6 separate regions of the Homo sapiens genome follow, and regions 1, 2, 3, 5 and 6 are each linked to region 4. The links are contacts of gene promoters, found by promoter capture Hi-C in blood cells and fetal thymus (Javierre and others, 2016). All regions are on one chromosome and are shown on one strand. Each heading gives the region's core, a stretch centred on a gene start or on the middle of the fragment in contact. The rest is flanking DNA. Distances are from core to core; before and after follow the strand shown. Region 1 has its middle 38 kb from the start of LINC01228. Region 2 overlaps LINC01229 (long intergenic non-protein coding RNA 1229). Region 3 has its middle 21 kb from the start of LINC01228. Region 4 holds the start of WWOX (WW domain containing oxidoreductase). Region 5 overlaps MAFTRR (MAF transcriptional regulator RNA). Region 6 has its middle 320 kb from the start of MAF.

The links. Contacts are between HindIII fragments. The CHiCAGO score rates a contact against its expected background, and 5 or more counts as called.
Region 1: a fragment that was not itself captured here is called in contact with the fragment with the promoter of WWOX in region 4 in 1 of 17 cell types (fetal thymus); the score reaches 5.1 in fetal thymus.
Region 2: a fragment that was not itself captured here is called in contact with the fragment with the promoter of WWOX in region 4 in 3 of 17 cell types (fetal thymus, activated CD4 T cells and naive B cells); the score reaches 6.6 in fetal thymus.
Region 3: a fragment that was not itself captured here is called in contact with the fragment with the promoter of WWOX in region 4 in 1 of 17 cell types (fetal thymus); the score reaches 8.8 in fetal thymus.
Region 5: a contact is called between a fragment that was not itself captured here and the fragment with the promoter of WWOX in region 4, in 6 of 17 cell types (fetal thymus, monocytes, non-activated CD4 T cells and 3 more). The highest score is 10.1, in fetal thymus.
Region 6: a contact is called between a fragment that was not itself captured here and the fragment with the promoter of WWOX in region 4, in 1 of 17 cell types (naive CD4 T cells). The highest score is 7.7, in naive CD4 T cells.

Annotation. Positions count from the first base shown.
Region 1 is chr16:79,862,763-79,867,591 of GRCh38, reverse strand. No RefSeq gene overlaps it. Among named protein-coding and RNA genes, the nearest start is that of LINC01228, 38 kb to the right of the region's middle. The HindIII fragment of the contact is 3,032 bases long and covers 1-3,019 here.
Region 2 is chr16:79,778,299-79,782,988 of GRCh38, reverse strand. All of the region lies in intron 1 of LINC01229 (long intergenic non-protein coding RNA 1229), which reads right to left. Among named protein-coding and RNA genes, the nearest start is that of MAFTRR, 10 kb to the right of the region's middle. The HindIII fragment of the contact is 4,722 bases long and covers 1-3,629 here.
Region 3 is chr16:79,846,046-79,850,948 of GRCh38, reverse strand. No RefSeq gene overlaps it. Among named protein-coding and RNA genes, the nearest start is that of LINC01228, 21 kb to the right of the region's middle. The HindIII fragment of the contact is 986 bases long and covers 1,222-2,207 here.
Region 4 is chr16:78,098,404-78,103,466 of GRCh38, reverse strand. It overlaps WWOX (WW domain containing oxidoreductase), which reads right to left and starts at 3,813. Exons shown (of 9, transcript NM_016373.4): 1 at 3,582-3,813. The coding sequence starts at 3,688. RefSeq lists an enhancer at 3,080-3,579. The HindIII fragment of the contact is 3,217 bases long and covers 2,544-5,063 here.
Region 5 is chr16:79,761,037-79,765,614 of GRCh38, reverse strand. All of the region lies in intron 2 of MAFTRR (MAF transcriptional regulator RNA), which reads left to right. Among named protein-coding and RNA genes, the nearest start is that of LINC01229, 7.1 kb to the left of the region's middle. The HindIII fragment of the contact is 2,334 bases long and covers 2,048-4,381 here.
Region 6 is chr16:79,278,602-79,283,562 of GRCh38, reverse strand. It overlaps a transcript of MAF not described here. Among named protein-coding and RNA genes, the nearest start is that of MAF, 320 kb to the left of the region's middle. The HindIII fragment of the contact is 6,240 bases long and covers 591-4,961 here.

The DNA of each region.
Region 1 (4,829 bases), core at 254-2,753, 1.8 Mb before region 4:
TCAGATCTCCTTCCTGATCTTCAAGTTAGAGAGATCTTCAAGATAGATTACATGTATAGGGTTTCTCCCTATCTTGGAAACAGATACGCCAGCCCTCCTCAAGCCTTCAGATGACCGCAGCTCCAGCCAACAGCTTGAGTGGATCTCTTGAGAGGTCCTGAGCTAGCAACATCCAGCTAAACTGAATTCCTTACCCTCAGAAACTGTGTGAGATAATACATGTTTGTTGTTTTAAACGGCCGTATTTGGAGTAGTTTGTTAATGAGCAATTGAAAACTAATACCCCATTCTATTCCTGGGATCTGATACCACAGAGCTGAACCTCTGACAATGAAAGGGTCACTATTGGAATAAACCAGGTTAAATAATGCATGTAGGGTTAAGCCATAGCTCTCTGAATTTGTTCAACTACGGTGTGACTTTGTCAGCGTGAGACACTCAATTCACACAGAATTATTTCCCCTCCCTCATTTATTTGTTCCCTACAGAAGAGAATGACTAATTATATGGGTATGAAGTTTAGAAAATTGGGGTTCAATTCCTTTGTTTGCTGTTTATTAGGAAGTCACTGGAAATTGATTTAACCTCTTTGAGATCTGATGCTTCAATATCAAATAGGGAGGGTAATAGTACCTTGTGGGGTTGTACAATTCCAGGGGCCACCTGGACGTCATAAGGATCCACTTAAATAATGCACATCAAACACTTAACACAGGGGCTGGCACCTAATAAGAACTCAAGTAATAGTACTATCATTATTATCAGTAATAAAAATTATCAAGTTTCCTGATACCAGTCAATAGAAAGTTTCTTTAATTCTAAAGGCTTGCCACCATTTAACATAATCCTGATAGACAATGTGTCATAACAGCTAAGTGTTCTAAAAATGTGTTCTACGCATGGATTTTCTGCATTAGAATTCTCTGAAGTGTTTATTGAAAATGCAGATTCCTAAAACGAATCTCAGAACCACAGAGTCAGAATCTTTGGAGTGAGAGTTGGGGAAGGAGCAGTGGAAATCTGCTTTTTTTAACAAGCTCGTGCAGCATTCTAGCGCTCAGAAAAGCTCCAAGAGCACTGTTGTAGAAGAGAGAAGATTCATCTCGAACTGAAGGGTCCAGGGTTCAAGTCTGATCTCTGACATTTACTAGTCAAAATAAATTAACCTTTCTAATTCTCAGTTTCTCATCTGTGAAGAGTAAGCATAAATCTGCCTTTCTTAGCTCAAAGAGCAATTATAAATATCAGCTGAGATAATAAAAACATTAACTGACTTGTATCTAGTGTGTACATAGTTGACATAGTTGCTATTCCTATTTTGTCTCATTGAAACTCATGACGGTTCTGTGAAGTCAGTCTTCCTCCCTGTTGAAGTTGAGAGCAGAGGTAGCAGAGGTTACATTACTTAGTTCAGGTCACACCATGACGGTTACTGCATAAAGCAAGGTCTTACGATACTAATTCAAGACGCATTTTTCATTCCCTAATGTTGACTAAAATCGAGGTGCCATGTCAATTTGCTGTTGCTGTGCATTTCTTTAACTGTGACTACTGCTTTGTTGTGTTACCTAGCCCAGAAGAAAGAGGCCAAGGGAGGGATTACGTTCTAATTGCCCAGATCACAATTATACATGCAAAGAGCAATAATTATTTTAATACAAAAACTGTGAGGTCATTGAAAATGCATTTCTTTAGCAATGACATTAGAGAAACTGTCAGTCTTGATGCGTCAAATAGTTCTAATTTGTGCACCATTAAACTAACATATCTTAAATTATGAAACTGATTACCTTTGTTCAGTTTTTCTGGGTCATTATTTTGTTTCTTCTTCATAGGGTTTATGCAAGGGAAAAACATTTGGAAAATTGTTTGTATCCCCTACATGCTCCGTGAATAAAGAAAAGAGCTTCAAATGGATGCTTTATATTTCTATTAGTAACATTATCTGCTACTATACTATGTGAATTGGCTGGATAGGTTTTCACTGAGTTTGGAAGGTAAGATTCTGAGATGGTTTTACTTAAACTATAGGATGTGGTGTACACGTCAAATAGATATTTGGGTGCTAAGGGTGTGGGCTCCAAGAAATAATCACACATCTTCCAGAGTAGCTAAACTGAGACCAAGGAGAAGCCTCTGTGACCAGGAAAAAGCAAGCCATATATATTCAATGCATTAAGCAGAGAAAACAAACCACTTTCAAATGTGAATACAGCCCTGAAGTCACAAAGTAACATACTGAACTGCCCGTGCTGATTTGAGATCCAGTTGATTCTCACATGGTAACTCTAGGCTGATAGTTCCAGGATGAGATCTATACTTAGCACAAGTGTCTTCGGTCAGATTCACGCAGGAGTAGACCTAGAGACAAGGATTCGAGTGCAAATGGCTTCTTTGGGATGTGTTCTCAGAGGCACTGGAAGGGAGATGGGCAAGTTTAATGCGGAAGGAAGCATGGAAGCTATACTAGGGTGCATGCATGGAAGTGTAGGATTTTTATGTGAGGAATTGTGGCTTAGTCATAATGGGATCTCTGTGACACTGAGTTGAACACACTTCAGAGTTACTGACCCAGGGAGCAAAGAAGCTGGAAGGTATTTATCCACCAACTCCCACCTATCATGGATGGTCCCAGGGTGTTAAGACACTGGCACGGCTGACATTCCCTGAAGTGGTCAGATAAGACTCTTGAGTGGAGAATGAGGAACGCTTGCAGTTAAATGCCCTTAGCTTCACTGGCTAGATGAAGAATTTCCTATAACCCAGAAGGCTGTGTCATGGCTAAGTTTTTGAGGGATAAGAACTATTATCAATTTGCTTAACTTGAATGATAATATCATTACTAGAGTAATGATCTCTACACTAGTAATGCAGCAATAGCCATTTATTGAGTGACTGCCATGTGATAGTTACCATAGTAGGTCCATTACATATCTCATTTAACCTACACAATCATCTCCTATCGAGGGCATTATCATTCACATTTAACAGATGGGGGTGGTGGGAGATTCGGAAAGCTTCAGTAACAGGCCTAGGATTACACAGTTGGAAAAGAAAGCCAGAATATGACCCTAGGCCTTTGAGCATAGGATACATCCTCTCCACATAGCAGGTTGTGCATATACATTTCTTTAATAGATGAATTGAATATCCATAAAGGGTTCTTTTTAACTTTTGACACTTCAAGTTGGTATCTTTGTTGACTTGCAGCTGTCTTGACCGTTTTCCAAACCTCACTTCTCACCTGCTTGTTTAACCTTCCTAGAAGGCTGAACTGTATTCTGTAATAAAATGCAGATACTTTTAGTCATAGATGAACACGTTTGTACCTTCTGTGTGTATATAAGGCCTCGGGAAATTGACACTGGAAATTTAGGGCCAGTCAAAGAGGCTCAGATACCCTATTACGGACTCTGTATGTAAACACAGTCCCCTGACTCTCTATGGCACCTTCCTTCCTTCAAGTTAAGCGAATGTGCTCCATTTAGCTTTATATAATATCTAGCTTTTTTCCTGTGCTGGTTCACAACAAAGATTATCAAAATTTAAGAGAAATACGTTGGCTCTCCAATAAGGTTTGAACTATGCAGATGTTGCTGGGATAGAATTTAAGAGATAAGCTGTTTCCTACCACAGGAAGCTTCTGCTACTCGTAGTGGGTTCATAGCTGAAAGATAAAAGTTCAAAAAAAAAAGGTTTGAAATGCTATGAAACTCTTTTCCTAATGCAATCAAGCTGAAACTCCCGGGTAACCTGGTCATAGGAAGAAAGATTCTCCAGGGTGATTCAGCTTTTAATCTCTAGGAGTCTCAGCCCCTAGCATGCTGTGTTCATCAACTTGAAGCCATAAGAAAATGAGAGTTTGGAATAGTAAACTGCATAACCACTTCTGTGTACCTCCCGCCCATCCACCCCTAATCCCACTCCCAAGATGCAAGAGGGAAACCAAGGCCATTTTTTCCAAATGGACCAATGTCTGAAATACTGGCTTCTATTTCTGAATAGCTCACTTCTGAGCTTGTTTGCCCAACTCTGTAGTTCAATTAATTTCACGCTTCAGGGATTTGTAGGCAAGTTGACCAGTCTAACGGCAAAAATGAAATTTTATTGGAAAGGGTGTTTGTTGGGAAAACAAAAGACTCAGGGGCTAATTTGGTAATAGGCTGTGGAGACTTTCTTCTCAGGTCATTGGTTCAAATCTAGAACATGCTTGGCAGTGACGGGAAATCATTACTATTTGATGGCTGCCTGACAGGTAGCCAGGAATCTGTTGGTCTCCTGTCCAGCAGCTCTCTAGGCAAAACAGCAACAGTGACAGGAGGAACACCAACAATTACATGGAAACACAGGAACTGAATTACCAAGTTTCTCCCTCAACAACTTGTTACTTAACTGATTAATAGCTTTGTCAATTTAACAGATAATGACCCACCAAAAGATTCCAACGCCTACCTCTTAGGTGTGAAATCTGAGTAAAACCAGGAAAAAAAAAAAACTGGAACATAATGAGAAATGAAGAACTGAAGAACAACAGAAAAAAAAATTACAAATCTTTCTGTCAATCAGAGACTTATAACTGAGCTAGAACATCTATACGTTTATATAAAAAAGGCCAAAAATCTTAAAAGGCCAGAACCGGTACCAGGAAAACCTGCAGAGACAAACCCCAAATAGAGTGACTGCGTGGAAAAAATTGGCAGATTTCTATCCAAAAGGTCCTTATGACACTTACAAGGCTAAGAGCCACGTACGGCTTATTATGGGAAGGTTGGCGCCATAATAATTTCGGCATAGCCATTCTCAGCTGGAACCAAACCACCAGATTGGAT
Region 2 (4,690 bases), core at 19-2,518, 1.7 Mb before region 4:
TGTTTAATGTTGATGCTACAGTGTTTTTGAGGATGAAATGAAGCAGGTTTGAAAAAATAAAAAGATATTTTTAGGGTTATTCTAAACCTTCTGATCTGAATAAAGTAATAGGAAGTAAGCACCTCATTCGAGCTCTGAAGATTTACAAGGATATGAGAAATTAAAGGCATTGGTGCAGATTGCTACTAATACTCGTTTTATGAGGAGGGATTTATCTTCTCACATTAGCAGCCCCCAAGGTTTCGATCTGTCTATATAATATGTACCTGCATTTGAACAATTGACAATTGACTTCATCTGTTCCTACTTTGCTAATTCAATCTGTGAAGAATAACTACTCTTGCAGGAATTTTAAAGATGAAAAACACATCCATTATATTATTGAATACAATTGATCTTTGAGTACCTGTGTATGGTAAGATATATGCATTTGATTCCTTTGTACAACTATCAGACAGTCTATATAGGCAGTCTCATTTATTAGGTAGAGGCAGAATGTGTCTGCTAAGGTATTTTCAACTAGATACTTAGCAGTACAAGACCAGTTATTGCTAACAGAAATAGGCAAAAAAAAAAAAAAAAAAAAAAAATGAAAAAAATCAATCTGATCTATCTTGAACTTTCATGTTTAAAGTCTCCATTTTCCATTTCAATGAGCATTTTTCTTTTATATATGTGTCATCAATAGTCATGGGCAAAATCCAAAAAGAGATGCATCAAAACAGAGTAACAGCAAATAAATAAATGCATCTCAGCTGCCTTCCAAGCAATATATTTCTCCCATCATTTGCTATAATTACTAGTATCTTAGATCAATACTGTGTTTTTTGACTTTGAAAACACATTTTCACTACAATCTCATTTTATTCTCCAGGACTTCTTCTAAGTCAGGCGTGGCTATCCCCATTTGGCTGATGAGGGAAGCACAGCAAAACTGAGGGGCTTACCAAGATTACATGGTAATTAGTGGCAAATGGAGGAACTAGGGCTGCTGCCTTAGAGCCTTGGTCCCCCTCCTGAGAAGGCAAGGAATGCTCTGTAGTCACACTGACTATCTAGGCCCAATTCTCTTATAGACTCAGAGGAGGATGGTTCATCTCAACCATACTATCCCCAGTGTCTCAATTCTCTTGATCCCAAGCACTTTTCTCAGAGGCAATATGGTGTCATGGTTAAAAGTGAAGTATCTGGATTCGAATCATATCTTCACTTTTCTTGGACATAAACTAGAGATAACAAAAGCACCTACCTCATAGTGTTGTTCTATACTATCTCCTGACTGGGCTTATGAGTTCTCTCCTGTTGACCAGTCTATACTGATTGGGCCACTATGAATACCCAGCATTCAGTAAATATTTGTTGAATGATTAAATGAGAAATAAACAGGATGAAAATGTCAACCGCCTGTCATATAGTCATAAATACTCTACAAATATTCGCTATTGCTAATAAAAGTCTTTGTAATAGATTATATCAGAAAGACGGAGCCTTAGTTTCTTTATCTCTAAAATGGGCTAAATAATATTGCTCTTTTAGGGTTGTCAGAACTATTTTAGAAAGATCTATACAGGGTGCCTGATATGGTATTTAGTCTTAGTGCTGCTGAGCTGTTATTATTACTGTTGGTGCTGGTGGTATTTAAACACTTTGGGATCCCTCTAAGATTTTACATATGTAAAGAAAGTGAAAGTGGAAAAGAAGCAATTCAAAAAGGCTATTAGTCATTGGGCAAAATTAAAAGAAAGAGGCATCAAAATAGAGTAGCTAGCAAATAAATAAATATATCTCAACTGCCTTCCAAGCAATATATTTGTCCCACCATTTGCTAAAATTATTAGTATCTTAAATTGATACTGTATTTTTTTGAGTTTCAAAATACATTTTCACTGCAGTCTCATTTTATTCTCCAGGACTTCAAAGCGTTCACCATATACCACATATTTAATGTACAGCACAATAACTAGTCTATGTGGAAAATACCTGTTTTGCAGGTTACAGAAGCTGAGGCTCAGCCCTGTGCAAGGTCATGGCCGATAGAACTTGGGTGCCATTGTGCTTTTCTCCAAAATCTTTGATTTTTTTGAACTATATGTCCCTCGACTAGTGCTCTTGCCCTTCCCCATACTGAAGCATATTCTTCTCTAGGAATTTAATGCAGAGGCAAACTTTGAGAGCAGAGGCCATGTGAGGCTATTGTAGTTGCTCCCCCATTGGTTTGCAGGTAAGGCAAGGACTAGCATCAAATATCTGACATACAGCAGAGGCACAGTAAATATCTGCTGGATGATTAATAAATTCCTCCTTATCTGGGAAGAAGATCAGAGGGGTAGAAGTCTCAGGGCCTCCTCACCTGCCTTGGGTATCAAGCAAACCCCAGAGGCTCCATGAGAACTCAAGACCACAGTGGATCTCTGTCATGCTATTGCTACTGCAAACACTTTTCAGGATATATTTCATATTTTCTCTCAATTTAGAACGAGAGATTTCTTTAGCAGCCCTACATTAATACCTTCCCTTCTGCTCTGCCCCACAGCTCCAGCATTCAACAGCCCCCAGTAGACCCCATTTGTAACACACGGCAAATTTAATGATACTTGCGAAATATGAACCACCTCCTCAACTCTTCTATTTTTTTTTTATGGTGACACAATTAGCCAGATGACGAAGCTCTTTAAAATGAAAGAAAACACTAAAAAAATATTGATTTTTCTACAAAGCCATAATATTAAAAGTATCATTCCAAACTGAAGTGGGGACTAATTTAGAGGCAATGCATAAATCTAAAACTATCTGAGTATGGTGACAATTTTTTTAAAAAGCCTTAAAAAATTACATATATGGAAACTTGTCTATCATTAAATTACTTGGTTTGGATTTCCACTAATAAAATATAAGGACTTGTTACTATATTAGGCAAGTCACTCCCATTATTAATTTGTTAGATAAATGGCTCCTCTATCTTGCACCTTTAAATGAAATGGAATTCACTAATCCTAATTGCTTTGCCTTCTACTGGAATTTTTTCCCATTAGTTCAGCATGTTTTTTTTTTCTTCTTCTTCTCTTTTCCACTTGAAGAGGGGAGCCTTCTTCAACTTAAAGCCTTAGGGTATACTTTATGGGTTTATTAATTATCAGGTATTCATCAAAGGGGTTAATTAAGCAATAACTTTCTATTGACTGCAGTATACAAAGAATTAAAGGCTTGAATTCACCTGCTGATTAAACACCTAGTGACCGTGCCTTCATGTTCCTCCCTGTGGTTGGGTGAAATAAAAATCTTTGACCAGTTCTGGTCATGGGTTGCAAGGCCACTCAGGAGGACAGTTAAAACCAGTTTGTATTTACAACTCACGCTACCTTGAGATTGCCCAGAAAGAGAAAGGACTTCTGCTTCTCAGGGTTTCCAAGGAGAAATTTTGTCCCTAGCATCTTTGGCAAGAATCATCATTTTTTTCCTGCAGCATGCTTTTCAGCAATAGAAGGTGAAGGATGATTTCCTTCCCCATCTCTGAGGAGTTTTATAAAATTAAAACAAGTCAACATAATAACCCCACAGGGGTGATAGTAGTTTACACACCAATCTTGGAATTTTTTGAGATCATTTCAAGTTCAAGGTACATCTAAGCTTCATGCCCAGTGGTTGCAATTCTCCAGATCAAACTAGTGACAGAGGCATATCATACTTTCAAGGAAGATGGGCTCTTTGAAGACTGACCAACAACTCATCAAACAAGGGAAGAAGGAGATGAGTGTTCACTCAGAAGTTTCCACAAATTCAGCTTTTAGGAGGGAATAAAATAAAGCAGCTTTAAAGTCATGGTCTTCGGATGTGCTAGGATGTTCTTCTGAGAAGAGAAAATAAAAGCACAGTTCATGAAAAACCCATTCAACAGATGCTTCTGATTCACGGCCAACCCTACCCCAAAATTATGTGGTGATAGGAAGAAACAGAAAACTGCGTCCTTGGGTCCCCGGTATCATCCTTTCCTACTCCTTCCTTTTCCAGAATAACTCAAATGTGATGGTACTTTATCCAGGAGGACCTACAGCATACAGTAGGGTGTTCACAAACATGGATATGGAATGATTTGCACTTGGATTTGAGCCACAGTTCTCCCATTTATTAACTGCGTGACCTTGGGCTGGTTATTAAGTTATCTGAGACTCACACACATACAAGCCCATTCATTCCACATAAAAATTTCATAAGGTAGATATTTCTCTAGTTTCCATATAATTGATGAGGAAATGGAAGAATAGGGCATTTAAGTGGATGATCCAAAGCCACTCAGCTATCTCAAAGGTTGAAATAAGATCAAATAAGACGCATGTAAAATCTTTGGCGCAGGACTGGTCCTACTAAGCACCTGATAAATGTCAGAGGTTGCTATTATTATTACATCACTCTTGTCAACTTAGCCATCTTTTTCTTAGCTAAATATACTCTAAAAGAAATAGGTACATACAGGGTAACCATATCTTTTTTTCTTAAAATGTAACAGAAATAAATCTATTAAGTTTTGCATGTAATTTTGACCTCACAATACACACATACGTACACACACACACACAAATGCACGCATACCCACACAACTAATCTTGCTCATAACTCTGTATTTTATAAAATGTGCAAAGCATTGCTTTTAATGGCAAAAAACTGCAATTACTTTTGCACCAACCTAATATCA
Region 3 (4,903 bases), core at 465-2,964, 1.7 Mb before region 4:
AAACAACAATAATATTCCACTCTATGGCAAGAAAAATGAATGCATTACATGCATCCAAATAGAGAGACCTGAACATAATGTAAATGCGTGAGAAGAGCAAGTCGCAAAGTGTGTGTGTGTGTGTGTGTGTGTGTGTGTGTAGGTGTGTAGGTGTGTAGGTGTAATGCCATGAAATAATTTAGATGAAACTTAAAAACACACCAAATAGCCATTCTATTTATTTTTCATGGATCATAATAACAGTTAATAAATATTAAGCATTTATTTTTTTCCAGGCTCTGCTCCAGACACTTTAAATGTATCAACATTTGATGATTGCACATACAGTTGATTTACTATCCCCTTTTTTATTTGACTGAGACAGAGCAAAGTTAAGCAACTTCTTCCAGGTTACTCAGCTAGTTGTTACAGAGTTGGAGCTGAGAGCCAGGCTGGCTTCCAAGTCTGTGCTCATAAACACGGTGCCATCCTGGATTCAGACCAAACGACACCAAACATGGAAAGGGATGTTTCTAGACGTGGAGAAAATAAAATAGAAATGGTCTTTGGGGCTTTACCTTCTATATAATATATTTTAGAGAGAGAAAGAGAAGAGGATCAGGGAGAGAGAGAAAGAATGGGATATCCAGCTACTCGGGAGGCTGAGGCAGGAGAATGGCGTGAACCCAGGAGGCGGAGCTTGCAGTGAGCCGAGATCGCGCCACTGCACTCCAGCCTGAGTGACACAGTGAGACTCCGTGTCAAAAAAAAAAAAAGAAAAAAAAAAAAAAAGAATGGTACATCCACAGAAAAGACAGGGGAAAATGTTAACATCGGTCAGATCAGATTGGCCAGTATATGGGGGTCTATCACTTTTTGTTTGAGTAAAACATAAAATACTTTTTAAATTAACAAGTTAAAAAACAAAGGTTATATTAATGGGTGGCATAAGGCTTCCCAGACTTGCTTTTGATCTGTAGTTTGCTAACTAGACTTCTATGTTGCCAAGCGTCACCACTCTCGCTTTGCAGAGTGAGATGTGGAAGTTGAAGGGTTTTTGAGGGGCAGCTGAGAGGGACACAGAACCAGGTGAAAGGAGAGACTGCAGACGAGGTGGTTGGGGTACACCAAAGGGAGGAAGCAGCAGCTGTAGGAGGAGTGGGGTCAAGGATGTTTACAAGAGACTTCCAGAAACCCTGTGGGGTTTGATGTAACCCCCTCTTCCGTTTCCCCAGGAAAGCTTCAGTCAAAGCTACACCACTTTCCATTTCTTCAGCTGTCAGATACGGTTTTCTTTTGGCACGTGGAGAAAAGTTGAGACTTGCCTCAGAGGGACCATGGCCTGGACAGCTGACCAAGTGGGTGCAGTCGTGCTCAGGGTCTATATCCACATAAAGTGACTCTTCTGGGTACCTAGCAGGCCTCTAATGTGGCATCACTGCATCCCACGGAGGTCTCTTCTCACCCGAGGCTTTCTGTCATCTGATGAGCTAGGTGCTCAGGTTTCATGCCCATGTCACTGCGCTCCAGTGGCTGCCAGGTAGCCTCTCCGCCCCAGCATCACCACAGAGAGGCTCTTTGGCTGTCGCCCTGATGCCCGCTCACGTGTGGGGCTTCTTGCACAATTGCTGTCCTGGGAGCAGACAAGTGGGAGTGGCAAGGTGGGGCCCACACGGGCAGGTCTGGGGCAGCTCAACCGTGTGAATGGCAGACAGCCGCCAGGCCTCCAGGAGCTGGGGAGCTGGGCTGCTGCAGGACCAGCGGGAAGGTGGGAAGGCAGGATAAGTTGGTGGTGAAAGGGCCTTTGGAGGGAGGTCCACACTGCATCCTCTGCCTACTGTGAGCAAAGGACCCAGCCCCAGCCTGCTGATTTATGGCTTCTCTTCTGTGAGCTCATCAGTGATTTTGGAGCAGGTTCATAAGAAGCAAATGCCTTGTAAAGGCACAGTCTAGCTCTGGCTCTGCCACAGCCTCTCCTGGGAGCGAAAGGAGGTTTCCCATTCCTGGGGCGTGGTTGGCCTGCACTCCCCTGCACACCAACAGCAGGCCTCACGCCACTTTGCAGAAGCCGGAGACAGAGCTGTGTGGCTGGGCTTCAACATGTGCCAACACGCTATTTACAAGGCGAGAAGCTCTGGAGGAAAATGATAAAATGTTGTTTTTTAGGATATTTTGCAATTACATTAAGCCCTGTGAGCCTCAGTGAAGAATGCAGCACTGTGAAAGCTTCCAGACCTTACCAGACAGGGATTTGGGGCCAGCTGAGAGGTGATACCACCTGTCATCATTTGTTCTTTCTTCTGCCTGGGCTACCTGCTCCCGGACACCTCTGTACCCTAGCTCGAAGCTTTGTCTCATATTTCAGGATCCGCGCAATAGGCAGGATCAGCTAACCTATAGAACACAGCCTCTGGGTTAGACGAAACTCAGTGAGGACTTGTCTTAGTTCAGGTCCTTGGTCCTTACATTTTCTGAGCTTCAATCTATTCATCAGAATGGAAGCCCTCCCTGCTTTGACGAGTTTCTAAAACTGGAAATAAGAGTATTTTCATGTAATTAGCCTTCCTCATTAAATCTGTTAAGGACAATCAAGGACATTAGTTAATTTCCAGTTCTTATAGTAGTCCACATATTGTAGAGTCAACCATGAATTGTTCCTATCAGTTTGTTTTATTTAGTTATGATTAATGAAATTATCGTAGATAGGCACATGTGTTTTTAAAGTCACTTCTATCTCAAAAAATAAATATATAAAGAAAGAGATGAACTACACACACACACACACACACACACACACACACACACACACATCAAGTAGTACTGTGGGAAAATAAATAGGCTCTAGACAGACTGACCTGGGTCCTACTAGTCTTTCTAACATATCTTGACTTTGTGATCTTGGGCAAGTTGATTAACCTCTCTGAATCTGCTTTTGTTTATTCTGGAGACAGTATGCACAGTGATTAAGGGCTTTGACTCTGGAAGCAGATGATCTAGGTCTGAATCTCAGATCCATTACACACTCACTTATTTGTACCTCCGTTTTCCTGGTTGTAAAATGGAAGTGAGACTAGTACTTATCCCACAGAGATGCTGTGAGGACCAAATGAGCAAATGAAAACTCACATGATATAAAGGGCTTAAATGGTTGCCTAACACATAGTTATTAAATGACTGCAACATGGGAATAATAATGGAATCTACTTTAGAGGGTTGCGGTGAGGATGAGATGAGACAATGCACGTGAAGTACACAGCTCAGAGCCTGACACCCAGGTGCTGGTTACAACGGGAGCTGTTGCGGCTGTTATTTTTCCTTCAGGGAAGGAAGCAGAGAAGTTGGACTATGCACAGGTCACACTGCACACTCCTGTGGTGTACTGAGATCCATTCACAATTCTACATCACCAGGATCTAGGGATATAGGGGGGAGGGTGGACACAGAAGCGTGGGAGGAGAGGTGCTAGTGTCCCGGGAGAAGGGTCCAGAGAAGGCCAGGCTCTGACAGAGAGAGAAGCTGCAGAGGCCACAGACAGCAGCTACCTGGGAGGCTGTGCTTATGCTGCACCCAGTGCAGGACCATTTTGCTGATCTCCCTCCTGCTGCCAAATGTTCCAACCAGAGCTCTTTGATCCACTGCCAGGCCTCGGGCAATGGAGCCAAGGTGTGTCTGGATTCATGCAAGGCCCTCGGGTGAGGGACTGTCGATCCCGACAGCCATGCCAGCGCAGGGCCAAGAAAGAATGTCCTGGAAGGGTGGGGATGGGTTGGGCTTTCTGAACCCTCCCACCTCAGGAAGGCAAAAGACACAGATCACAGGCAGCAAGGGGCTGCCATTTCTGATGCTTATACCCTCCACGGTGGCTACAGGAGCCCGCACCAGCAGTGGGAGGAGCAACATTCCAGAAGCTGGTAATGATGCACCTGGGTGGGTCCCCATGACCAGCAAGTGCAAAGCTCCCATTGACAGGATGAGAAAGCAAAGGCCAGAAGAGGTCAGGGAATTTTCCCAAAGTCCACGTTAAGGGAGGGTAGACCTTTCAGTCACTTCATAGTTTCATTTCTCAACCTTGGCACTGCTGCTATTTGGGGCTACATAATTATTCGTGGTGGGGTCCGTCTCATGCATTGTAGGATATTGAGCAGCACCCCTGGCCTCGACCCACTAGATGCCAAAAACACTTGGCAAACAAAAATGGGGTGACAAACAAAAATGTCTCCATGCATGGCCCAGTGTCTCCTGGGTGCAAACTCAGGCCTCAGCTGAAAACAAGCCTCTTGGTGAATTGAATGCTACAGAAACATTAATTGAGGTCCAACTGCATCCCAGGGGTCTAGGCTAGCCACGCACATGCATTATCCTGTTTAACACTGACAACTATCTAGGGAATAAAATTTCTATTTTCATTTCTATCTATGCAGCTTCTCTCTGCACCGATGCAGAAACTGTGCCTGCCAGATAGTAATGATCCAGCCGAGGGCACCAGGCTACAATTTGCAGAACTGGACTGAAGAATGGCTGACATAGCCAGCTGCAGTGGCTCATGCTTGTAATCCCAACAGTTTAGGAGGCCAAAGCAGGAGGATCACTTGAAGTCATGAGTTCAAGACCAGCCTGAGCAACATGGCAAGACCCCATCTCTATAAAAAATACAATAATTAGCAGGGCATGGTCGCACATGTCTGTAGTCCCAGCTGCTTGGTAGGCTGAGGCGGATGGATCATTTCAGCCCAGGAGGCAAGACTGCAGTGAGCCATGAGTATGCCACTGCACTCCAGCCTGGGTGACAAAAGAAAAAAAAAATAGAATGGATGATATAAACTTTATTGTTTACTGTGGGGTTGCGGTGGGGGGAGGCGTTAGTTCGTTCTTCTTTCTCTCAATACCTTTACAAAGTCTCTGTTTCAAAAGAGAGCGCAGATTA
Region 4 (5,063 bases), core at 2,564-5,063:
CCAGAGAGTGAGCCCTCCAGCTGAGAGCCAGCCAAGCCCTGGCATCTCAGCTGGTGTATACAATAAATAGCTAATGCACGGGGGGCTGAACAACTAGGTGATGGGTTGACAAGTGCAGCAAGTCACCATGGCACAGGTTTACTTATGTAACAAACCTGCACATCCTGCACATGTATCCCGGAATTTAAAGTTAAATTAAATTAAAAAAAAAAAAAAAAAAAAAACAGCGGAGCCAGAGAGGCCAGCTTGAGATTTAAGACACTAGTCGGGAGGGCTGGAGGAAAGGCGTTTGGAAACCATGTATGCACCCGAGTCCCCTGGCCAGGGGCCACTCAGGAAGAAAGCAGATGGGAGAAAGGCCAGGCAGCAGGAAGGCAGGCGCAGGGGGCACGCAGGAGCAAGGGAGCCCCAGGGCCCTAGCGCCAGGCTCCAGGGCAAGCCTGCAGGGAAGCAGAAGCACCTCTGGGGCTGAGTGGCAAAGGAGGAGACGCCCCACAGAGCCAGAGGCAGAGGTGGGCTTAGGAAGCCGGAAGCGGGTCATGTGCATCTTTGTACTCTGGGGCCCAGTGCACCACCCACCCACCCACAGAAGCCTGCGGCTGACCCTCCCAAGGTGATTCATTTACTCATCCCACAGGGGCTCATCTTATGGCTTCTGGGTGCCAAGCACTGGGGACACTCAGATGAACAAGCTGCCCCATGACATCTGCAACCTGGGCAAGGGAGACAGGGCCAACAAGGAGGAGTACACAGCCAAGGCTAAGCACGAAGAAGCAGAGAAACAAGGTGACTAGTACAAGGTCGAGGGGACACCCACAGTTAAGAAGGTCTCTTGGGCAGTGACATGTAAGCTCAGCTCTGAAGGATGAGAAGGAGCCTTTCCCCAACAGATGTACAGGTGAGAGGAACAGCAAGTGCCCGCTCAGGAGCTTGCCTCCGTCCCTGCAAAGGCTACTGGAGCTCTGCTGCTGGAAATGTCCCTTTAATTCTCCAGAGCCAGAAATTCTTCCAGAATTCACAAGCTGAATGAATGCCACTCTCTGGCTCTGCCAACAGAGCCCAAGCTTCTCGGCAAGGCACAGAAATCCTTGAAATGGGTCCTCCCTTCCCTGCCTTAACCTTCACATTCCTGGACCCTCACAAAGATCACAGGCCCCTGGACAGGCCATGCAGGGGGTCTCTCCTCTCACTGTTCCCTCTACCTAGACTGCCCTCCTGCCCCACCCACCTCTACTTGAGCTCAAAACACCGCTCTGGGCTTGGCACAGTGCCTCAGGCCTGTGATTCCAGTGCTTCGGGAGGGAGGCTGGCTTGAGTTCAGGAGTTCAAACCAGCCTGGGCAACATGGTGAGACCCCATTTCTACAAAACATGTAATAATTAGCTGGGTGTGGAGGCACACACCTGTGGTCCCGGGTACTCAACAGGCTGATGCGGGAGGATCGCTTGAGCCCAGGAAGTGAAGGTTACTGTGAGGGTGCCACCATATTCCCTCACGACCCCCCCAACTACCTACACACACCTCATGCCAGACACACTACTTCCTGGTATACACACTGCGTGGGGACGCTCCTACACATGTCACTGTGCCCTAATAAGATTGGGTCCTAAGGATGACAACTGGCTCTTATTTGCCTCGGTATAACCAGTGCCAGCCAAAGGCCTGTCACATAATACCTGTGTGTGTCTTGAATGAACTCATCAGAACTTGGTTGTTTTTCCTCTACCTTGCCACCAAAGGCAGCAGTGGTTCACATCCTTGCATAGATTAGAATCACCTGGGAGGGAAGATTTTACAACCTACCAAGGGAGAGGGGAGGGGCCAAACCAATTAAATCAGAAATTCTGGGCTGACGCAGTGGCTCCTGTCTGTAATGCCAACACTTTGGGGGGCCGAGGTGGGCGGATCACTTGAGGCCAGGAGTTGGAGACCAGCCGGGCCAACAGCGCGAAATTAGCCAGGCCTGGTGGCGGGCGCCTGTAATCCCAGCTATTCGGGAGGCTGAGACACGAGAATCGCTTGAACTCGGCATGCAGAGGTTGCAGTGAACCGAGATCGCACCACGGCACTCCAGTTTGGGCGACGGAGCGAGACCCTGTCTTTAAAAAAAAAAAAAAAAAGGCCGGGAGCGGTAGCTCACGCCTGTAATCCCAGCACTTTGAGAGGCCGAGGCGGGAGGATCACGAGGTCAGGAGATCGAGACCATCCTGGCTAACACGGTGAAACCCCGTCTCTACTAAAAACACAAAAACTTAGCCGGGCGTGGTGGCGGGCGCCTGTAGTCCCAGCTACTCGGGAGGCTGAGGCAGGAGAATGGCGTGAACCCGGGAGGCGGAGGCTGCAGTGAGCCGAGATCGCGCCGCTGCACTCCAGCCTGGGCGACAGAGCAAGACTCCGTCTCAAAAGAAAAAAAAAAAAGAAAAACCCTCTGGAAGTGGGGCCCAGAAAAAGGCTCTTACAAAAAAAGTTTCCCAGATGCTGAAAATCAGATTTACATCCATGTTTCTCAAAACCAGGTGATATTCCACCTCACCTGGAAAGCTTAAAAAAAGAGACTCCCAAAGTTGAGAGTCGGCTACAGTAGGTTCTCTATGGAGACCCAAAACGTGTATTTAGGACATTTCCTAGGTGATTCTAAGGTGCCGATATAAGAGGCACTGTCGTATCTTAAGAGCAATCAAGGAACGACAGTTAAGGAACAGAGAGTACCTACTAGACACGGTGCTATGTGCTTTACGCACAGTGCCTGAACTGACCCTCGTATCAACCCATTTTACAGGTGAAAAAACCAAGATTAAACGTTATTTCAATGGCCCAAGGTCACACAGTTAAAGATGAAGGCTCTGCTGGGGTTTCCAAAACTTTCCCAGGAAATGATAGTGAAGCTATCTAGGACTGCTACTAAAAAATACTCCTGGCTAGGCGCAGTGGCTCACGCCTGTAATCTCAATTCTGGAGGCTGAGGCAGGTGGCCTGCTTGAGCCCAGTAGTTCGAGACCAGCCTGGGCAACATGGTGCGACCCTAGTCTCTACAAATACTTAAAAAATTAGTCGGGCATAGTAGTGCACGCTTGTAGTCCCAGCCACTCAAGAGGCTGAGATGAGAGGATTGTCTGAACCCAGTAGGTAGAGGCTACAGTGGGCTATGATGGCACCCCTGCACTCCAGCCTGGATGACTGAGCAATACCGGTCTGGACAAAACAAAACAAAACACAACAAAACTCCTATCCCTGCAACCCAGAGCCTGCAGGAGGGAGCTGAGCATGTGCGCTTTTTAAAACATCTTTATTTTTTGGCGGGGATGAGGCCGCTTTGCCCTCGCCGCGCCGCGCAGTGCTGCATCCTGAACAGCAGAGGGCGCGCCGGGAAGCCACCAGGTGACCCCCGCTGGACCCGAGGCCCACCAAGGGGGCCGGCCCCTACTGGGAACCCTGGACCCTTTTCCCTGAAGCTCCTTAACAGTTACTTTCACTTTGCACCGCACGCGCTGCGCTGGAGTGCGCGTCCTCCCCGCGCAGGTGGCGTCCGTGGGCTGTGCAGGGTCCCAGGTGCGTCCGCGGCCCCACTGCGGCCCCCTTACTTGGCGTAGTAAACCCAGCCGTCCTTGGTGGTTCTCTCCTCCCAGCCCGGAGGCAGCTCGTCCTCACTGTCCGTGTCGTCCAGCCCCGCGTAGCGCAGCGCTGCCATGGCTGACTGTGGAGGCACCTGGCCCCCCTATCGCCCGCTGCCGGGTCCACTCGCTCAGGAACTCACTCCCGCTCCAAACGAGACCCGCGCGCGTCGGGGCCCGACCGCTCACGCCTGCGCACTGCGCCCTCCAGGGGCCGCTCCGCCGACCACGAAGCTGAAATCCAGTCTCCGCAATATCGCGACGGCCGGCGTCAAAGGGGCAGGGCCTGGAGAGGAAGGCGGTGAAAGTGCCTAAGAGATCGCGCTGCCGCCGGGCTAGACAGCAAAGCCGGAGAGCGCTCCGAGGCGCTAGAGATAGAGCGGAGCCTTGTCAGCCTCCCCGCCGCAGGGAAGGGGCGTGCGCATCCAGTTTCGGGCCAGGACTCCGCCCGTTGCTGGGCGACCCGTAATCACTTCCGCGTTGTTCTGGCCAATCCTGCAGGAGCCCGGCAATTGGATATGGGAAATGTAGTCCAGGTGGCGCCTGACCAAAAAGCGGCGCCCGACTAAAAAGCGGCGCCCATGCTGTTGTCCTGGGCTTCTGTCTCTCCTTGCCTTGGGGTCTCGTGAAAGTCCGTGATCACAAACCTTCCAGGGCTTGCCAGCATTCGTGCTGATTCACAACCTTTGTTTTGCATATGAACACAATGTTAAAATATAACCTGGAGAACTTAAAACTGCTGATTCCTGATTTCCTGGTTTTAGAGAACTTTCTTTCAGCCAAAACACATAATAGAGACTGTGATAATAGAGACTGTTGTTTAATAGAGACTCATGATAATAGAGACTGATGATAATAGAGACTGATTGATAATAGAGACTGTTGATAATAGAGACTGATGTTTACGGAGCACTTAATGTGCGGTCCAGGCCAGAAATGCACAGACATCACATGTAGCTGACACCTTTGTGTAGTGGGCACAACTCAGACAGGGTAGCTAGGCCGGGCTCAGTGGCTCATGCCTGTAATCCAAACACATTAGGAGGCTGAGGCAGGAGGATCACTTGAGGCCAGGAGTTTGAGAACAGCCTGGGCAACATCGCAAGACCCCTGTCTTTACCAAAAATAATTATTTTTTTAGTTTGCCGGGCGTGGTAGTGCACATCGGTAGTCCCAGCTACTCATTGAGGCTGAAGGGGGAGGATCACTTGAGCCCAAGAAGTCGAGGCTGCAGTGAGCTATGATCGGGCCACTGCACTCCAGCATGGACGACAGAGAGAGCTGCTGTCTTTAAAAAACTGCCTCACCTTTAGAGAATTTCCTTTAGTAAGTCTGGAATAGGTCCAGAATCTGGAAAGAAAGGGAGGGAGGGAGGGAGGGAGGGAGGAAGGAAGGAAGGAAGGAAGGAAGGAAGGAAGGAAGGAAGGAAGGAAGGAAGGAAGGAAAATAAAA
Region 5 (4,578 bases), core at 1,965-4,464, 1.7 Mb before region 4:
ATCTCTTCCCAGAAATAGGTGCCTAACATAAAACCCATGTACTTGGCAGCTGGTCATGGAAGCATGTGAACCTTATCCCATGCTAATCAAGGAAGGGAGAAATGGAAAACTTGATCCCCAGGTGGCTTCATAGGAACCAAAAAAAAAAAAAATAGAGGAGATGCTGGCATTGTCCAGTGCTGATAACATTTTCCTTTTTTAAAACAATCATTATGTTTGTGCTTGCAGCATGCTTTGTAATCACTTCTGATCACCATTCTTTACATCAGCACAGCATTTTATCCATTTTGAGGAAGCTGCAGTTGAGGTCAGGAGTGGATGAGGGCCTTCTCCTTGAGATAGGACAAACAGCTCTAAACCTGGAACAGATCCACATCCACAAAAGTCTCTGCTGTCCCTGCTACCATTTCCTCCAAGGGTTAAATCTCCCACATGATCAAGTGCAAAGGGGAACATCCACTTTCTGAGTAGGATTTGCACATGAAGAAAGAAGCAGCATCTCCAGGAAGTTGTTGTCAGGGCTGGAAGCGGGGGCTATGCTCAGAGCCCAACATCCACCCCATCTCTATAGTGTGGCACTGGCAATTAGGGAAGTTGTCTGTCATCCCCAAATCCCAGACTAGGAGGGGGGCAGTTAGATGTCACTGGAGGAGACAGAAGATGGATGGTCCTGGGAGGTTCCTCTGTCCTATCGATGCAGACACACCCGTCTCTCTGTCTCATTGCTTACATCACCTTCAATTTGACCAGATGGACATCATGGGAGGATTTTCGTCTGGATCAGGATTCTTAAAACACTAGCAAAAAGAGCTGGCTCTTGGGAGAAATGAGGATGGGGCTATTAGAAGTTGGGAGCTGGGGCCATTAGGAAGCAGCCAGGCTGTGTGGAGGCACAGGGGGATTTCTGCTCAATAATGGGAAATGTGAACACAGGTTAGTGCTGTGATTACAGCATCCTGGAGCGGGGGCCTGAGAGGCCAGGAATAGATTATGACTCACTCAAGCAAAACGTAGGGGAAGGGACTAAGGTTGCCCCTCCAGAATCTGAGAAAGGCACCCCTGTGGGAAGAGATATTCCACTCCAGGGTGTGGATGGGAAGGGTCATTTCAGAGCATCACACTGGAAAGTGGCACGTAAGTATTCGTGGACCTGGGAGAACTAGACCAGATTGGATCAGTTCAATGAAAGCACAGAACAGAACTCTTTAGAGAGCTTGTAAAAGCATCTACTAGCCCTGGAGTGGCAAGATCACTGAATTGTGGAGTTTTCACCCTGTTTCTGGGGGGTAATTTGGCAACATACATCAAGAGCCTGGGGGAACAGACTCAAAAACACAGATTTATTCCAAGAAAATGTTTAGATATACACATAAAGATTTATACGTAAGAAAGTACATCCGTGGGATATTTATGTGGGTGAAAAAATGACAAATAATCTAAATGTCCCACAACAGAGGAAATTACTTAATCAATTTCAGTGCCTTCCTACAATGGTACTTAGCAAACCTTTAAATATAAAATTATGTTTTCAAAGCAATGTTAATGACATGGAATAATGATTATGACATGCTAAGTAAAAAATGCAGCTTACCTTATGAAAGCGAATTGGATATAATCCCAATTTAATATAGGGAAAAAAAAACCCAAAAGGAAATAGGCCAAACTGTTAACAGTGTTTATCTGTATGTAGCAGAACTAGGGGTAATATTTTTAAACGGTGTTCAATGTTTTCTAAAGTATCTACATATTAATATAGATTGATAAGTATGTGTGCATAACTAATATATATATTAAATACACATTAGTTTTTCTCCGCTCCTTATCTTTCTTGCCCTGCTTATTCCTCTCCACACCAATGTTCACCACTTGACATACTATGTACTTAGTGGTTTATTTGCTATATTTCACTCTTTGCTCTTTTTGTCATCATAAAAATTAAATATTCTTAAAATATTTTAGAAGAATAATTGTAATTGCAGGAAGGCTAAGCTTTCCCCATTTTTATAACTATGACAAATCGAGACCAGGATACAGGATATATTAAGCTTATCCTTTGTCATGGGGGCTGCTTAATGACAGCCATTAGTTTCAGTCCCAAATGGGGAAGTAGAGTAAGAGGCTACCCCAGCAGTAGAAAGATAGGATCGATGACCCCAGAGTAGAAGCTCTGAACCCTGCGATTCCACTAGGAAAAAGACTAAGTCCTTAGGATATAAATTCCCAACGTAAGACCAGTAGGTACCAAGGGCTGACTGAGGCAATGAGAATTTAGTCAATTCATCCACAATGTCCAAGTTCTCCCCTGAATGACTGTTGCTCCAATCACAATCGACCCGTGACACGTTTTGCTTGAAGGCAGGAGTTTAGATGTTGCATGGTATACTGAAAAGGGTCAAATATATATGTTGATTTAGAATCCTGATTTCAGTACTTCTTAGCCATGTGACCTCACTGAAGGTATTTTAACTGCTGTCCTAATCCTTAGTTCCCTCACCTGCAAAGTAACACTAATCTCCCTAAGTTATTTTAAGTATGAAATGAGACTATAGATAAAAGTTCTCGCACAGGGCTGGGTATAGGGTCCTGCCCCAAATTCACCCTGGCCACTGTTCTGAAAGTCTAGTTTTCTAAGAACAAACCCAATCAGTAATAGCTTCATACAACACATATCAATCTCCACATTGGCTTAATCATGATTTAATGATTTCATAATCTCATTGCAGATTGTAATCAGGACATAACGGGATCTTTGAGCAGGGAATTCCTCTATTTCAGTGTGGTGTGGGGACCCCCAACATCCCGACTCCCAGCAGGGCTTGTTAAAATAGGGCACAGGTTAACAGTGAGGAGTTCCTGGCCTCACTGGACATGTGAGTCACAAGGTCTAGGGGTGAAACCAGAGAATCTACACTTTTAGAGGGTCACCAGGTCGTTCTTTTGCGCAATAGAATTTGAGATCCACTGCAACTAATGTTTCCAAGAACCGGTAGAGGTGCTCATGACCTTTTTTAGGTCAAGGCACAAACTTTGCATCCTTTCTCCTCTTCCAACCCGTAATTGTTTTTGTTAGGGTGATGTCTAAGAGAGTGGCCTTGCAGAAAGAATACAGTCATTTTCCATGTAGTATTTGCGATCCTTCGAAAGATTCTTGTTCAGTGGCAAAACTGTGACATGCTGAGCCTGGCCTTGCAGGGCTGTGGTTAGCCATACAGTAGTCCTGAAAGTCCAGGGTTCAACATGGGTTCATACAGGCTGTGCTTTGGTTTCAAGATTTGTACAAATGATCTCACTGAAATCAGAATCAAAGAAAGAAAAGATTTATCTTCATTTTCATAGCTCCCCACAAATTAATGTTTTTCTCTGTTTCACCATATTTCTTCCTTGCAGGCCTTGAATACTTAAGTTTTATAAATTCATAATCATTACACTGATATGCTTCTGAGATACGGGTCTTTTAATTTCATGATCAATATTCTTTCTGCTTTCCCTTTTCTGGTGTTCCTCCCACGCTATAGAATTTCCTTGTAATAATTAATTCTTAACCTTTATGAGACTTTGCAGTTCTCGCAGCATTTTCATGCCCATTATCTTATTAACAGAATAATTTATTTAGATAGCTTTGTTCCTTCTCATGAAAAGTATCTCAACAGAGATTCACCCAGCGAAGTGCTTAGAAGCATGAGCTCTGGAACCACAGACCCAAGTTTAATTCCTGCCATTTAATAACTGAGAGAATTCAGACAAGTAATGTAGCTTCCCAGAACCTGTTTCTCTTGTCTCTACCATGTAGGTAGATAATCACAGTACCCACCCAAAGTGTAGGATGAAACGAGATAATCACTTGTAAAATGCTTAGCGTGATGCCCAGCATAGAGTAAGGGTTCCATTAATGTCAATAATTATTGTCATTATCATTGTTATTAAAATATTAGATAAAGACTTTTAATGACTATAGGAAGTAAGAGGAAACTAACTTCATTTGACCGGATGTGACCCCCAAATCTAGCTTACACCAATCCAGTTTTCAGCCCAGAGTTCAGGAAAGAGAGGACAACATTTTAGGCAATGCCCATCACTGATTGTTTGTCTAAAGGAGAGATTATGATTCCATATTGTAGAAGTAACAGCTTCACCTGGGACAGAGAGATAACTTTTGAGTTTTTACATCAGACTTGGATATAGCTGGTTAAAATTAAATCCAAATTTTTCATAGCTTAGAAATGTTTGAAACCTGCTTTTCATAGTTTTCACATGGTTCTTTTTAGACTGGGTATGAGAATGAGGAGAGGGGGTTCTTATTGCCAAGTTTCTCATGGGGAAGCATGTTCTTGCCGGCCCCAGCAAACTTACTTGGTTCCAGGAGTTCAGGCCCAGGTAAGCTTTGGACAAACACCTGAGGCTCTGGGAGGCTTAATTGAGATGAGCCTGAACTTAAATGTTTTATGAGGTACGCCCATTGCTAATTTTCTTGGCCAAGTTTGAGTCTGTCTCACTCCTGCTAGCATCTGACAAACTCAAGTCTTCACCATGAAGCCTTGATTGATTTCACCTTACTGTTTCTTTGAGCACAGTAGACTG
Region 6 (4,961 bases), core at 2,461-4,960, 1.2 Mb before region 4:
AAAAGTTTGTCATTCCCTTTCTTTCAGTCATCAGAAAAGCATATAGGTGACCTAAAGGCGTTGGATGTAGAATTTGGGACTACAAATTAAGCATTTGAGGATCTTTTTAAAATACAAAGATTTATGCTTACACTGCTCTAGAATGAGGAGAACTTTTTACCAATTTTAAGAAGCTTTTAAAAAGAATATATTGCAAATTCTAGCCCAAAGTGTAAACTTTCTGGAATGTACTTATTGTGAACTGGGAGGAAGTTTCATATGTCTAATGTAACATGGCGTGCTTTTCTAGAAAGATGGTTTTCTTTGTTCATCATTGAGTTTAAAAATTATTATCTTACACAAACCCTATCCATTCATCCATTCATCCATCCATCCATTCATCCGTCCATCTATCCACTCACGCCATAAATATGTGAAGGACATTCACAATGCCTGGTACTGTGCTGGTTGCAGTTACCAGAGATACAAAGATGAATCAGAAACATTCCCTATTCCCCACCCTCAAGGAGCTCAGAATCTGGTACAATAGACCCTTGGCAGGTGCAGGTTTGACATTTGTGGTTTTGACTATTTGTGAGTAACCCAAAGCTTTATGACTTCCTAACTTGTCATTTTTGCTGCTTCATGGGTTTGAAACATGCCTTTGATGAAACTCATAAGCAAATAGGACCCTTTGGATTAATGAATGGGTTTAGCTGACAGCCCACAGTCCACCCTGAGACTAGCTTTGTAGTTCTGCACCCAAAATCATTCTCCTCAGGCGATAAAATACTGTTCAAGGGAGAATATTAAACCCCCAGATGAAACCACCTGCCAATGCTATTTATTAAACTAAAGAGAAAGTAAAGAGATCTACTTACAGTTTTGATTGGAGAGATCATATGACAAACTGATACTGAGTAATTTGAGAATTTGCACCTTCCTAATCTAAAAGGTCTTCTTTGGCTAAAGAGAGTTGAGTTCATTCTGTTACCGTAGCCTTTGGGGAAGCGGTGACTGTGGGGCCAGTTATAAGTATTCCTGGGACTCCAAGTTGCAGGACTTCTGTCACTTAAAGATTCAGATCACCTTAAAGATTCAGGCTCCCACTCTTTGGTGACACCATTAATATTTTCCTTTTAGAGGAGGGATACCCTAGTGCCCACATCACTGATGCTACATTAGTGGTTATTCTGGTTCTGCTGTTTTTATGATCACAAAGTTAAAAGAGAAATTGATCCACCAACCTCCTAACAGTTTTATAATCTCCTCTCCCAGGGAACTTGGGGTGGCTTCCTTAATGCCTGGGCCATGGATATTTACAAAATACCACTCCGAGTCTCCATTCCACTTTGAAACCACGGGTGTCCCCAGTTTAGACAGACTTTTGGCTTCCTAATTGGCATTTCTAGAACTCATGGCACTAGGCTAATTTTTGTATTTTTAGTAGAGACGGGGTTTCACCATCTTGTCCAGGCTGGTCTCGAACTCCTGACCTCGTGATCCAACAGCCTCGGCCTCCCATAGTGATGGTATTACAGGCATGAGCCACTGCACCCGGCCTTTTTTAACTCTTACCTTCAAGACCCAGACACCAGGACTCCTGTTGGATTGTTCCATATCAAACTATCCTGGGGTGAGATTGCAGATCAGTATCCTCATTGTGGTCCTTGCTAGCCACACACAGAAATGCAGGGTTCTACAATTAATACAGGAGTTTAGGGGAGAGTGTGTGCTGTAGGCGTAAAGGATTGTAATGGATTTTCCGATGAGCACTTTAGGAGGCTGAGGCAGGCAGATCACAAGGTCAAGAGATGGAGACCATCCTGGCCAACATGGTCAAACCCCGTCTCTACTAAAAAGACAAAAATTAGCTAGGCGTGGTGGTGCACCTGTAGTCCCAGCTACTGAGGAGGCTGAAGAAGGAGAATCGCTTGAACCTGGGAGGCGGAGGTTGCAGTGAGCCGAGATGGCGCCACTGCACTCCAGCCTGGCGACAGAGCAAGACTCCCTCTCAAAAAAAAAAAAAAAAAAAAAGTCTTCAAAGAGTGAGCTTTCTCAAGGTGCTTGAGATGGGATTTCATATACAAACAACTGAATTACAAACCTTTTTTCAGGAATACAGCTCACTTGCTTAAAGCAAGGCTCACCTTAAATATTTGGTATTAAGTACCCTATGGCTCTCTTTTTTATTTGTTATGACCTCTGACTTCTTTTATTAAACCATAGATTGTATTTTCTAACTCTTTTTAGAGGCTTTCTTTCATCTTTCACGATCATCCCCCTAGACTTTGGGATTAGCTGGAGCATTTACCTAATACCCTTTGCTCATTACCCTCCATGTCCTTTTTTTTTTTTTCATATTGAAACTATTGGTTAAATGTATGTGCAAAAACAAGAAAAGGTATGTGCACATCTTCCGTCCAACCTCCTATCTTCTACTTCTTCCCTCTGGTAGCCTCTGGATAATCATTCATCCTCTATTTGTCTTCGTCTCTTCTTCCTCTTCCTCTCTGCTCTTTTTCCTTCTGTCTCTTTTTCTCCCTGTCTCTTGCTGCTTTTTCACCTGCCTTTATCTTTGCTTCTTCCCCTCCCATTCTGATCTGGGAGACACTCCTTTCTCAGGGTCGGGGGTGGCAATCACTAGACTGCTTTGACAATGGATCAAGGAAGAGGGAAACTAAATCTTCAGAGTCAATTCATACTCAATAAGGAATCCGCATCAGAGTCCTTTAAAATGTTCCCACGCTGTCTTAGGTGCAGTTCCTGAGGAGTACAATGGGAGAGAGTGATTCCTGGTGAGCAGTGTAGTGACAGGGAAGCCAGGATAGGAGCTAGTAATGCAGGGGCTGGACAAGACAGTGGATGGAGATGTGGGTTCAGCTGAAGTCTAGCATCACCCTGAGCCCACAGGGGCCCTGGAGTGTGAATAGCACTGCAGCACCCCAGAGAGAAGAAATATCTATTTTAAGCCTTCCAGTTCTTGGTCCTTGCTTCAAGCAGCCCTAGGAAACTCAAAAGACACATATGCAAGTGATCCCTCATGGTGGAAGAATGAGTTTAGGTGGTGGCCCCCCAAGCTGGCCTGTGCATACAGGTTTTGTTGCAGAATCCCAGGGGTTCTAAAACTTTTAAATTTGAACCTGGCCTTCAAATAGTTGCGAACATGTATTTGCCAAAATAGGAGGATAGAGGTTATGTTTTAATAGTTTCTTAGTTGGATTTGCCCTTTTCAAAACTTAGACTGCAGCTGGACTCTTGATCCAGTCCCCACAAATGTTGAGGTGAGTCTGCCCCAGACCTCTCTTCTCCCGGCATTTACACAAAACTGGATTTATCAAAAAAGTCCCAATTATAGAGTGACTTCTGCTGCAAGCCCGGTTAACCAACACGTGCAACTGGCTTAACCTTTTCTGGATTTTCCTAAATGTAATTTTTTCCCTTCTTAAAGAGAGCTGAAAATCACTTCTGGTTAATAGGGCAGCTTATCGAGCTGATGGTCTTCCTGTTTCCTTACCTGCTGTGGCCTCACATCATCATCAGAAGAATCACTCTGCTTTGGAGCCTGTGACAGGGGCAGCAGAAACCATGCTTCACATCAAAGCATCGAGAACACTTCCATTGCCCACAAACTGTGTCCCGGGCAAGCCCCGTATTTATAACATTTTCCAAATCAGTGTAATTTAGATTGCCTTTTTATGAAGAATAGGCTGGACTTTCCCCAAATCATCTAGTGCTCTGCCAAAGCTCTGGGAGAGTTATTTTAAAAACAATAAGCAGGTTGTTAAAAAAATATATAAAAGAAAAAAAAAGAAGCAGCAGCAGCTCTGCTCGAATGAATCCCAGGCTTGGAGGTCAAAGTGTAAGAGAACCCCTGCGCGAGGCAACATATGCCATTAGGAGAGGAACTGGCCACGGTCCTTGCCCTCTGGGGGTTCACACTTTAGTACAGTCAGATCTGAGCCACTTGCAGGGGTGAGGGGTCAGTGCTTGAATGTCCCTCTCTCCAGCTTCGTCATCCTGCAGCCCAGGATCCACCTGCAGTGGGCATCTCTGTTCTGTCCTGGCCTGTGCTCCCCGCTTCAGCCTCTTCCCCAGGTCCCATTCCCCACAGCTACTCAGAAAGCAAGTCCATGGAGTGTGCGTTCATGGAACAGAATGAAACTCAGAGCCACTAACCTTTACGTGTCCCTTAATAGAAGTGAAACCTCCTTGTAACTTTCAGCCCCATTTTCTCTTCACCCTAGGCTGGTATTGCTGTCATTCCCACTTTCCAAAAGAGGACAGTGAAGCTCAAGGAGGTCACAGTGACCCAGCCAGAAACAATGGAGAGCTGACTAGGACCCCACATGCATGGATCGGGGTGAGAATGAGGGGGTGGAGAGGGAAGAAGCAGCATTCTACCATTTCCTATGTGCGTGACCTTAGAGAAGTCATCTGATTCCTGAAGCCACTGGTTCCTGTCTATAAAATGTTGATGACAGGGCTACCTCCGGAGCAGCTGGAGGTGAGAATTGAATGATAAAATATATTCAGAATCTTTAGCATATTCCCCCAGAAAATAGGAAGCATGCTGTATCCTGTATACATATATTTGAGGGGTATAGCAAGTTTCCAAATTCTGAATTCCTCCTCCTCCAGCCTACAACTTTTCCATGGCCCCATTCCCCAGGAACCTGGTACACCACCTACTTTCACATTAATAGACGTGTTCAGTAGGCTGTGCCTTTGCCCCGAAGATCCAGTGTCAGCAGAAGGGGCAGACACTTGGGGGCCAGCAGGCAGGAAGGCAGGGAGCCATCTCCTGTCCCCCTGTCAGGGCGGGTCCCTGTTTGGGTAGCTCGACAGGCTTCCTGACTACGCAAATCACACCGAGAGCAAGGCTTGGTTTCTGAAACTGCTAGTGCCTTCTACCCACGAAACCCCAAACCCGGCACTCAAGGAGGCTAGAAACAGCTCTTGCGCTTTCAGACACAGACACG